Linked DNA regions of Homo sapiens: regions 1 and 2 are each linked to region 3. The links are contacts of gene promoters, found by promoter capture Hi-C in human tissues and cell types (Jung and others, 2019). All regions are on one chromosome and are shown on one strand. Each heading gives the region's core, a stretch centred on a gene start or on the middle of the fragment in contact. The rest is flanking DNA. Distances are from core to core; before and after follow the strand shown.

Evidence for each region. Contacts are between HindIII fragments. The study calls those that stand out against the background at their distance.
Region 1: a fragment that was not itself captured here is called in contact with the fragment with the promoter of LIMK2 in region 3 in 1 of the 25 tissues and cell types used here (dorsolateral prefrontal cortex).
Region 2: a contact is called between a fragment that was not itself captured here and the fragment with the promoter of LIMK2 in region 3, in 1 of the 25 tissues and cell types used here (spleen).

Annotation. Positions count from the first base shown.
Region 1 is chr22:30,927,187-30,930,373 of GRCh38, forward strand. It overlaps MORC2 (MORC family CW-type zinc finger 2), which reads right to left. Exons shown (of 26, transcript NM_001303256.3): 25 at 833-1,021. Among named protein-coding and RNA genes, the nearest start is that of MORC2-AS1, 6.5 kb to the left of the region's middle. The HindIII fragment of the contact is 7,715 bases long and covers 1-3,187 here.
Region 2 is chr22:31,676,386-31,679,607 of GRCh38, forward strand. No RefSeq gene overlaps it. Among named protein-coding and RNA genes, the nearest start is that of PISD, 16 kb to the left of the region's middle. The HindIII fragment of the contact is 6,331 bases long and covers 1-3,222 here.
Region 3 is chr22:31,210,965-31,213,983 of GRCh38, forward strand. It overlaps LIMK2 (LIM domain kinase 2), which reads left to right and starts at 1,334. Exons shown (of 16, transcript NM_005569.4): 1 at 1,334-1,460. The coding sequence starts at 1,445. RefSeq lists enhancers at 875-1,054, 2,017-2,942 and a silencer at 1,035-1,434. The HindIII fragment of the contact is 2,868 bases long and covers 1-2,624 here.

The sequences.
Region 1 (3,187 bases), core at 536-3,035, 280 kb before region 3:
CACCACTGTCTCAGACAACTGTGGGAGCCTCCTCACAGGAGGCTCTGGTTCTAACTTTGACCCCTCCAGGCCTCCTCCAACCAAGCAGGTACATGTCTGAGACTGAAAACTGCATCATGCCACACCCCTCCAGTGATCTCCACTGTTCTCGGGATCAAACCCCACAACTTTCAAGCCCTGCCTCTGCCCCTACCGCCCCCAAGTCCCTGCTCAGGCCTCAAGTCCTGCTCTTCTTCCTTCTGCCTGGAATGCTCGTGTCACACTCTTTGCATGACTGGCTTCCAGTGTCTCCAAATGCCTAAGCCCCTGAACACCCTAGTCAAGTGGCCTCCCCACACTTTACTGTATCTCCTTATGAACCACCATCAGTAATTCTCTCTCTTCCACCAGACTGGCAGGCTGTGAGAGCAGGAACCTTCTCTGGCTTGTCTTGTTCATTCTGTATCCACAGGACAGGCACAGAGCAGGCCCTCATGCTTATTGCCTGGATGAAGGGCCAACAGGCTAAGGGGTGCTCCCCACTTCTGGGCTACCCAATCCCATCTGGGCGTCATGTGGAAAAGAACTTCGTTTTTATGGCTTGGAGGGTTCTCAAACCAGGTTGTACGTCGGAATGTCTAAAGGGAAAAAGCCTGGTTCTATGGGTCTGGCTGGGCTGAGGACCAGGCAGCCACACCATCTCAAGCCCTCCTGCCAGGGTGCTGTGCAGCCAGGGTGAGAACCATAGATTCCTGTGAGTGGATAGATTCTTGTGAGAACAGGAACAGGGCCCAGGCCCCCCTCCCTGAGAGACCAGGTGGTCCAGCTGCAACAGGAAGGCTGCCGGGCTCACCTCCTGCACCTTTTGCAGGAGTGCCACGATGTTGGTCCTCAGCTTCTGCAGCTTCTCCTCCGTCTCGCGGAGCTTCCTCTCGGAGGTGCGCAGGCTTTCCTCGGAGGCCTTGGCCCGGGAGTCAGCACGGCTCTGGTAGGAATTGCACAGGTTTTGGAGCCCTACTTCATATTGCTTGAAGTACTCCTTCTGTTGGGAGCAGAGCAAGAGGGAGAGTGTGTAAGTTCACAGGGGTCCCCAGGGCCCTTCTAGGCTGACACGGGTGTCTCCAGCCCGCTTTACCCAAGGATGCCTGGTCTGAAGGAACATCTTAGATACAAAGGGCAAACAGCCTCTTTACGTCCAGAGTAGAGAGACATCAATGCCTATCTTGTGGGGCTGCCACAAGGAAGAAGACAATTAGCACACAGGTGAAGCACTCAGCACAGTGCTCTGGCAGACAGCAGGCCGTGAGGACGCGTGAGGGGCGATTCTTACCATTCCAAGTGACAAAAAAGGATGACAGAATCGCTCTTCCATGCTCAATCATAACCTGTCTGACTTCAGTACAGCCCTTTCAACCACCCACTTCCAAGACATACCCAACAATGTCAGCGCTCATGTCAGTTCTCTTTCCACCTACCAACCAACAGCAGATATCTCCAGATCTGTGGAGTAGTATATACTTCTACAGCATCAGAGCTTTTTACTATTTTCCCTGAGTACCTGAAACCTCCAGGGGGAGAGGTAGGAAGGGAAACAAGCAGTTTTTCTAGTGGCTTTTCAGACTTATAAAAGGGAGCAGAATACTTGTTTCAAATGAAATGTCACATGGAATCTCAGTGTGAAAAACAATGTTAAGTAGTATCTCTTTAGGTTCAATTTATTTTCCAAGTTCAAATTTATAACATGACTTACTCGTAAATCACTGAGAATCATGAGGCCACTGTGATGAACACACACGCCACAACCAGCAGGTGCTAGCTGGCTGCTGCAGTCTTATCAACTCTGGTGTTTACTTCTGTAAAGATGCATTAGCTGCCTAGCCTGGAGAGGCTTCTAGATGCCATTTTTAAAAACTGTTACTGGCAAGTATTTAACTGTGTCATTCACCTTATCCTACTAAACCAAGATAGCAAGAGAAACTTCTAGTTCTACACAAAACAGTAATTGCCTTGGCAGCACAAAATAAATACTGGAGCAATCTCCAAAGTATTAAAATTCAGTATACAACATCTTGAAAGTAGACATGGTTTGTAATAATTTTTTCTTAATTATTTTGAGGTAACTGTAGATTCACATATAATTGTTACATTAGTTTTTTTGAAAAAATGATACTTTAATATTGCAGGGCTCCTGAGGCTCTATGGAACTCCTGATCCATATGGTATAAAGGACGTAACTGACAAGGACATAATGAACAGTAGACTTTGTTTTATCCCTGATGCTAAAAAAATAGTTTGAGTGATGGCCAGGCGTGGTGCCTCACACCTGTAATCCCAGCACTTTGGGAGGCCGAGGCAGGTGGATCACGAGGTCAGGAGATCGAGACCATCCTGGCTAACACGGTGAAACCCCATCTCTACTAAAAATATAAAAAATTAGCCAGGCGTGGTGGCGGGTGCCTGTAGTCCCAGCTACTCAGGAGGCTGAGGCAGGAGGCTGAGGCAGGAGAATGGTGTGAACCCGGGAGGCAGAGCTGGCAGTGAGCCGAGATTGCGCCACTGCACTCTAGTCTGGGCAACAGAACGAGACTCTGTCTCAAAAAAAAAAATAGTTTGAGTGATTTTAGACATTACAATTAGCAGGACAAAGGTGATACACTGGTATTATACCTCCTTGTACAAAAAGAAGCTAATATACTTTTTTTTTGACACAGTCTCGCTCTGTCACCCAGGCTGGAGTCCAGTGGCACAATTTCAGCTTACTACAACCTCTGCCTTTCCCCGGGTTCAAGCGATTTTCATGCCTCGGCCTCCCAAGTAGCTGGGATTACAGGCATGCACCACAACATCTGGCTAATATTTTTTGTACGTTGTAGTAGAGATGGGGTTTCACCATATTGGCCAGGCTGGTCTCAAACTCCTGGCCTCAAGTGATCCACCTTCCTCAGCCTCCCAAAGTGCTGGGATTACAGGCCTGAGCCTCCACACCCAGCCTAATATACTATTTTTAGACACTCATGCACTTTGTTTGGGCCCAGGCATTCAAGCCCACTGCAGAGATCCTGCTGCACCCAGGCTCTACTCTGAGTTTGGCAATAACCTTAAACCAAAATCAACAAATCTGACAAGATGCCAGGCCAACCTAGCCACCCTATTAGCTGCTTGTTCCTCCTGGGATTTGCAGAGAGCACCTGCAGCCTAAACAAGGACA
Region 2 (3,222 bases), core at 281-2,780, 470 kb after region 3:
GGGGCGCTGGGACTCATGAGTAGCTGCTATACTTTGGGATCTGTCCCCCATCCCTGTGTTTGCAGTGTTTCAGCGACCATTTCAACATCTCCAAAAGTCTAAGATTAAAAATGCAAAAGAAAAGAGAGAAACTGCTTAGGCGAGTCTTTCTCCCAGGCTGGAGTGCAGTGGCGCGACCTCGGCTCACGGCACCTACAGTCTCCCGAGTTCAAGCGATTCTTCTGCCTCAGCTTCCCGAGTAGCTGGGATTACAGGCGCGCGCCACCACTCCCGGCTAATTTTTTGTATTTTTAGTAGAGTCACCAGGTTGGCCAGGCCTGTCTCAAGTGATCCGCCCGCCTCTGCCTCCCAAAGTGCTGGGATTACAGGCTTGAGTCACCGCGCCCGGCCCACGTGGCGAGTCTTAACCACGTGACCCTCCCCGCTCTCCAGCCCGGCAGGTACCAGCAAAGGACTAGCAGCCTCCTCCAATATGGATAGCTTCTCGGATGGCCCCGCCCCTCCGGAGAGCTGCAGCCAATCAGACGGCGTGAGGCCAGCAGTGGGTGCGGCTGCGCTTGGCGCTGCGCATATCCGAATACCAGGAAGTGCCCGGTTTCGCTGTCAGTGCTCGGGCAGCTAGAATCCAGGTCCCTTGAGGAATAATTTAAGAAGGGGTGGAGAAAAATTAGGGGGCGTCTTCAAATATTCAGAGAGTCAGCGAGGTAAAGAGGACTTGGGCAGGTCTGTGTAGCAACGGGGGCGGGAATCATTCATTGACGCATGAAGTATTTCCTGAGCTCCCACCACGTAAGACCAAGTTTTGTTCTAGATGTCCGAGGGGCCAGAGTGAATATAGCAAAGTCTTTGACCTCAAGGAGCTTAACGTGAATAATATGGGGACGTGGTGGTGTTAAAAAATATATAAAACAGGCCGGGTGCCGTGGCTCACGCCTGTAATCCCAGCTCTTTGGGAGGCCAAGGCGGGTGGATCACGAGGTCAGGAGATCGAGACCATCTTGGCTAACGCGGTGAAACCCCATCTCTACTAAAAATACAAAAAATAAGCCGGGCGTGGTGGTGGGCGCCTGTAGTCCCAGCTACTCTGGAGGCTGAGGCAGTAGAATGGCGTGAACTCAGAAGGTGGAGCTTGCAGTGAGCCGAGATCGCGCCACTGCACTCCAGCCTGGGCGACAGAGCGAGAATCCGCCTCAAAAAAAAAAAAAAAAAAAAAAAAAAAATATATATATATATATATATATATATATATCACCGACCGGGCGCGGTGGCTGACGCCTGGAATCCCAGCACTTTGGGAGGCCGAGGCGGGTGGATCACTTGAGGTCAGGAGTTCGAGACCAGCCTAGCCAACATGGTGAAACCCCTTCTCTACTAAAAATACAAAAATTAGCCGGGCATCATGGCGGGCGCCTGTGATCTCAGCTACTTGAGAGGCTGAGGCAGGAGAATCGCTTGAACCCGGGGTGGAGGTTGCTGTGAGTCTTGATCACACCACTGCACTCCAGCCTGGGCGACAGAGTGAGACTCTGTCTCAAAAAAAGAAAAAAAAATCTTTCTCTTATCTCGCACACCATAAGGAGGACATATAATGGGAGGCAGTACACTTCCCAGTAGAGGGATCTGGAAAGGCACATATCTGAATACAGTAACTGAAGGAACCATGTAGAAATGTGAGAGAAGGGCATCACTGTCGGCACAGGCAGCAAGTGCACACGTATCATGAGATCCGAGCAAGGAAAAGCCAAGTGTCGGTGTGGAAGTTGTATTCAGATTGCTTCTACCTCCTCAGTGAAATGCGAAGGAAAACTATCAGCTGTGGATAAGGAAGGAGGAGGGACTGGTGGTTTGAGAAAGATGTCATGAAGGACTCACTTATGACCCTGTAAGTTGAAGAATTATGAATTTTCTAGAACACTTTTTAAAAAAGAGAAATCTGGCCGAGTGCTGTGGCTCATGCTCGTAATCCCAGCACTTTGGGAGGCCGAGGCGGGTGGGTCATCTGAGGTCAGGAGTTCGAGATTAGCCTGGCCAACATGGTGAAATCCCGTCTCTAGTAAAAATACAAAAATTATCCGGACGTGGTGATGCACACCTGTAGTCCCAGCTACTTGGGAGGCTAAGGGAGGAGAATCACTTGAACCTGGGAGGCAGAGGTTGCAGTGAGCCGAGATCGCACCACTGCACTTCAGCCAGAGGGACAGAGTGAGACTCTGTCTCAAAAAAATAATAAGATAAAAAGGAGAAATCCCAGAATGAACCGCAGAATTGTGATATTGGCCAGGTGCAGTGGCTCACACCTGTAATCCCAGCACTTTGGGAGGCCAAAGTGAAAGAACTGCTTGAAGGTCGGAGTTAGAAACCAGCCTGGGCAATGTAACAAGACCTTGCTTCTATAGAAAATAAAAAGTTAGCCTGGTGTCATGGCACTGTGGTCTCAGCTACTCAGGAGGCTGAGGCAGGAGGATGGCTTGAGCCCAGGAGTTCCAAGGTTGCAATGAGCCGTGATCATGCCACTGCTCTCCAGCGTGGGTGATAGAGCGTGACGGTCTCAAAGGTGGAGTGGTGGCGGGGGAGGTCAAGCGCGGTGGCTCATGCCTGTAATCCCAGTACTTTGGAAGGCCAAGGCAGGAGATCACTTGAGACCAGCCTGGGCAACATAGTGAGACCCTGTCTCTTCCAAAAAATAATTAGTTGGGCTTGGTGGCATATGACTGTAGTCCCAGCTACTTGGGAAGCTGAGGTAGGAGGATCTCTTGAGCCAGGAAGTTCGAGGCTACAGTGAGCTAAGTTGTGATTGTGCTACTGCACTCAGGCTAGGCGAAAGTGAGACTGTTTCAAAAAAAAAAAAGGGAAAGTAAATAGAAATGTGTTTTCCATTGCTGGAAGAGGACAGGACACCACAGAGAGGATTCTTTTTTTTTTTTTTTTTTTTTTGAGACAGGGTCTCGCTCTTTCGCCCAGGCTGGAGTGCGGTGGTGCGATCTCAGCTTACTGCAAGCTCCGCCTCCCGGGTTCACACCATTCTCCTGCCTCAGCCTCCTGAGTAGTTGGGACTACAGGCACCCGCCACCCCGCCCGGCTAATTTTTTTGTATTTTTAGTAGAGACGGGGTTTCACCATGTTAGCCAGGATGGTCTCGATCTCCTGACCTCATGATCTGCCTGCCTCGGCCTCCCAAAGTGCTGGGATTACAGGCGTGAGCCACTGCGCCTGGCCAGGATT
Region 3 (3,019 bases), core at 84-2,583:
AGAAGAGAAAAATCTGACCGGCATCCGGTTTGAATTAGAGCAGGAAGGAAGAGAATTGTGCTCGCCTTTGTCTTTGCCTTTGCCTTTGCTTACCCAACTGCTGGGACCAGAGGCAGCTGGGTTGAACTTTGTCTTTGGTCAGGGGTGGGGGTGGAGGGGACAGAATCCATTTCCCTGGGCTCCATCCTCTTTCTGGTCATTTGGACATGTTTCCTGTGATCTAAATCTGATGTAAGGAAATGACAATTGTGAAAGACCCAGCGTGAGAGAATCTGATGGGAGGGTGGGTCATCAGGGACCAGCTGGCCTGGCTGATGATGTATTAATATCTTAATCACACAGAGGACCCCAATCTCCTTCCAAACCTAATGAGCGGAAGTGGTTCTCAAAGCTACTCAGCCAGCTAGCAGCTGCCATAACCCAGTCAGCTGTCCTAACTCTTAGTCCTGTAATCCCTCCTCCTCATAGAAGATTGTAAACTGGCAGCCCACAGGGCAAATCTAGTGGCCAGGTGTGTTTCATTTGGTCTACATGGCATTTTAAGAACTTTTTGATGCTATCAACATTTTTTAAAAGTGGCAAATTTCACCTAAATATCTGGATTTTTGGCATGTTTTGAAAGGTTGGAAGACCTGGGAATGGTAGGCCCATGTTCCTGCAGGGGAGTGCTCGTCTTCCAATGCGGCGCACAAGCTCCAGCGTCCTGCGCTAAACCTAATTGGCCTGGCTGAGGATCTGCTCCTGGAATGCTGGTTGGTCGCCTCCAACTGTCTTTGACTTAGAGATTATTTACTGTCAGCTTACTCATAGTGGCGCAGAGAAGTGGTTTCTCTGAGCTAGAAGCTTCTAAGAAAAGTCCATCCTCAAAGCTGTTTGTGGGATAGACCTGGCTCCTCCATTGTAATATTCCTGATTCCAAACACTACTGGAAAGAGCTCTGAACTGGCAGTTAGCAGGCCTGGGCTCCCATCCCGGCTCTCCTCCTAATGAGCGAAGCCATTTCAATGTAGTCGAACTTAGCCTCTGATCCTTAACTTTCCCTATCTGTAAATGAGGGCGACTAGATGGGTGCGGACTGTCATCCGTGTTGAGACTTCCGGCCCCCGCAGAATCAACCTTACCGGCGGGAGCACCTCGAGGGGACGCCGCTCGCACTAGGGGGCGCCAGGGCCGCTGCAGAGCCCGAGCCAGAGCCAGGGGGCGGGGCCGCGTCTCGGGAGCGAGGCCTGAGAGCGGCGGGGCGGGGCGTCGGCGGGCAGTCCCCTGTGCCAGGTGTGGTTTGGTCCTCCCAGGGCGCCGTAGGCGGTGCATCCCGTTCGCGCCTGGGGCTGTGGTCTTCCCGCGCCTGAGGCGGCGGCGGCAGGAGCTGAGGGGAGTTGTAGGGAACTGAGGGGAGCTGCTGTGTCCCCCGCCTCCTCCTCCCCATTTCCGCGCTCCCGGGACCATGTCCGCGCTGGCGGGTAAGGAAGGGCTGCTCCGCCCTGTCCCGCTGTTATCTCCGAAGTCCGGTTCCATGGCGCCTGAGGGAAACCGGCTGTCTCTCGGGGGTTTCGGGCTGGTTGGGTCCTCGTGGGTCCGAGCTCCTCAGAAAAGCTGGGAGGCGGGGTGGGCACAGCGCTCCCCAGGCATTTGGAGGGTGGGACTCCGGGAATGGGGAGGCAGGGCATCCTGGAGACAGAGGGCTCCGAGGGGCAGGCGGGTTGGGAGGCTTCCCGCGAGTTGAGGTCCCGGGGAGGAAGAGATTCTGGGTCTGCCAGGAATCCAGCTTTTTGGAGGGACCTGGCGGCCGCAGACCCCCAAATTAACCCTTTTTAAGGAAGTTGAAAAGCATGGGGTTCTCTTATAGTGGAAGCTCTGTGGAATTTGAGGAGTACAGGATCCTCTAGGGTTCAGGACAATTAGGAGAGTTACCCCGGGTTCTGGGTTTTCTGAGGGAAATGGAGGATGTGACTTCCCTGCCAAGACCCAAGGCTTCTCGCGGGCATCTTGGTGTCTGGGAGTCCCCCGGGGCTGGGAGCTCTTTGCAGAAAATAAGGGAGTATGGAGCCCCTTGAGGTTTAGGACAGGACTAAGGGTAAGGAGAGATCGGACCATTCTTTTTGGGGCCCAAAGATCTCTGCTACAGGTGGCGAAAGTAGGCCACCTGGGGTTCTGAGTCCTCCTGTGGAAGCTCCCTTGGCCTCTCTAGACTAAAGACTAGAGGGATTCGGCCAAACACCTCCTGGAAGGAAGAGTTGTCTAAGGGTGAAGGGTAGCTTCAGAGTTGGGTTAGTTGCACCTGCAGTCACCTCCCCGCCACCTCACACACCACCCTGCAGCTTCCTGCCTTCCCCATCTTTTCCCCCAGCAGTAGGAACCTTCTGTCTCCTATGTTTCCCAGCCACCTGTGTGGGTGGCCCACCTCTGGGTCCACCAGGGTCAGCGTCCAGAAGCTTTGGAGAGGCGGCAAGAGGGTATTGAGGTGGAGGGGGGCTGGCTATCTGCCCCCTGCTTCCTGGCTTTCCGTCTGTGGACAGTCACTTCCTTCATCTTGAATGCAAGGACTGGGCTACCAGTGGGTCACTTCCTCAGCAAGGGAGCATGGGATTTTCTCTTCACTGGTGATAACAGACTTCTGGAGAGAGCTAGGGGTGGAAATGCCTAAAACAAATTTTTTTAGGCTGGGCGTGGTGGCTCATGCCTGTAATCCCAGCACTTTGGGAGGGCAGGGCAGGAGGATCGCTTGAGTCCAGGAGTTTGAGACCAGCTTGGGCAATATAGCGAGACTTCATCTCTTAAAAACAAAACCTTGTCTCTTAAAAAAGATTTTTTTTAAGCTTACAGAGTCCTTCAACTCGAATGATTTCCAGTAACTTTTTTTTTTTTTTCTTAGATGGAGTCTTGCTCTGTCGCCCAGGCTGGGGTGCAGTGGCACAATCTTGGCTCATTGCAACCTCTGCCTCCCGGGTTCAAGCGATTCTCCTACCTCAGCCTCCCGAGTAGCTGGGACAACAGGGGCCCGCCACCACGCCCGGCTAAT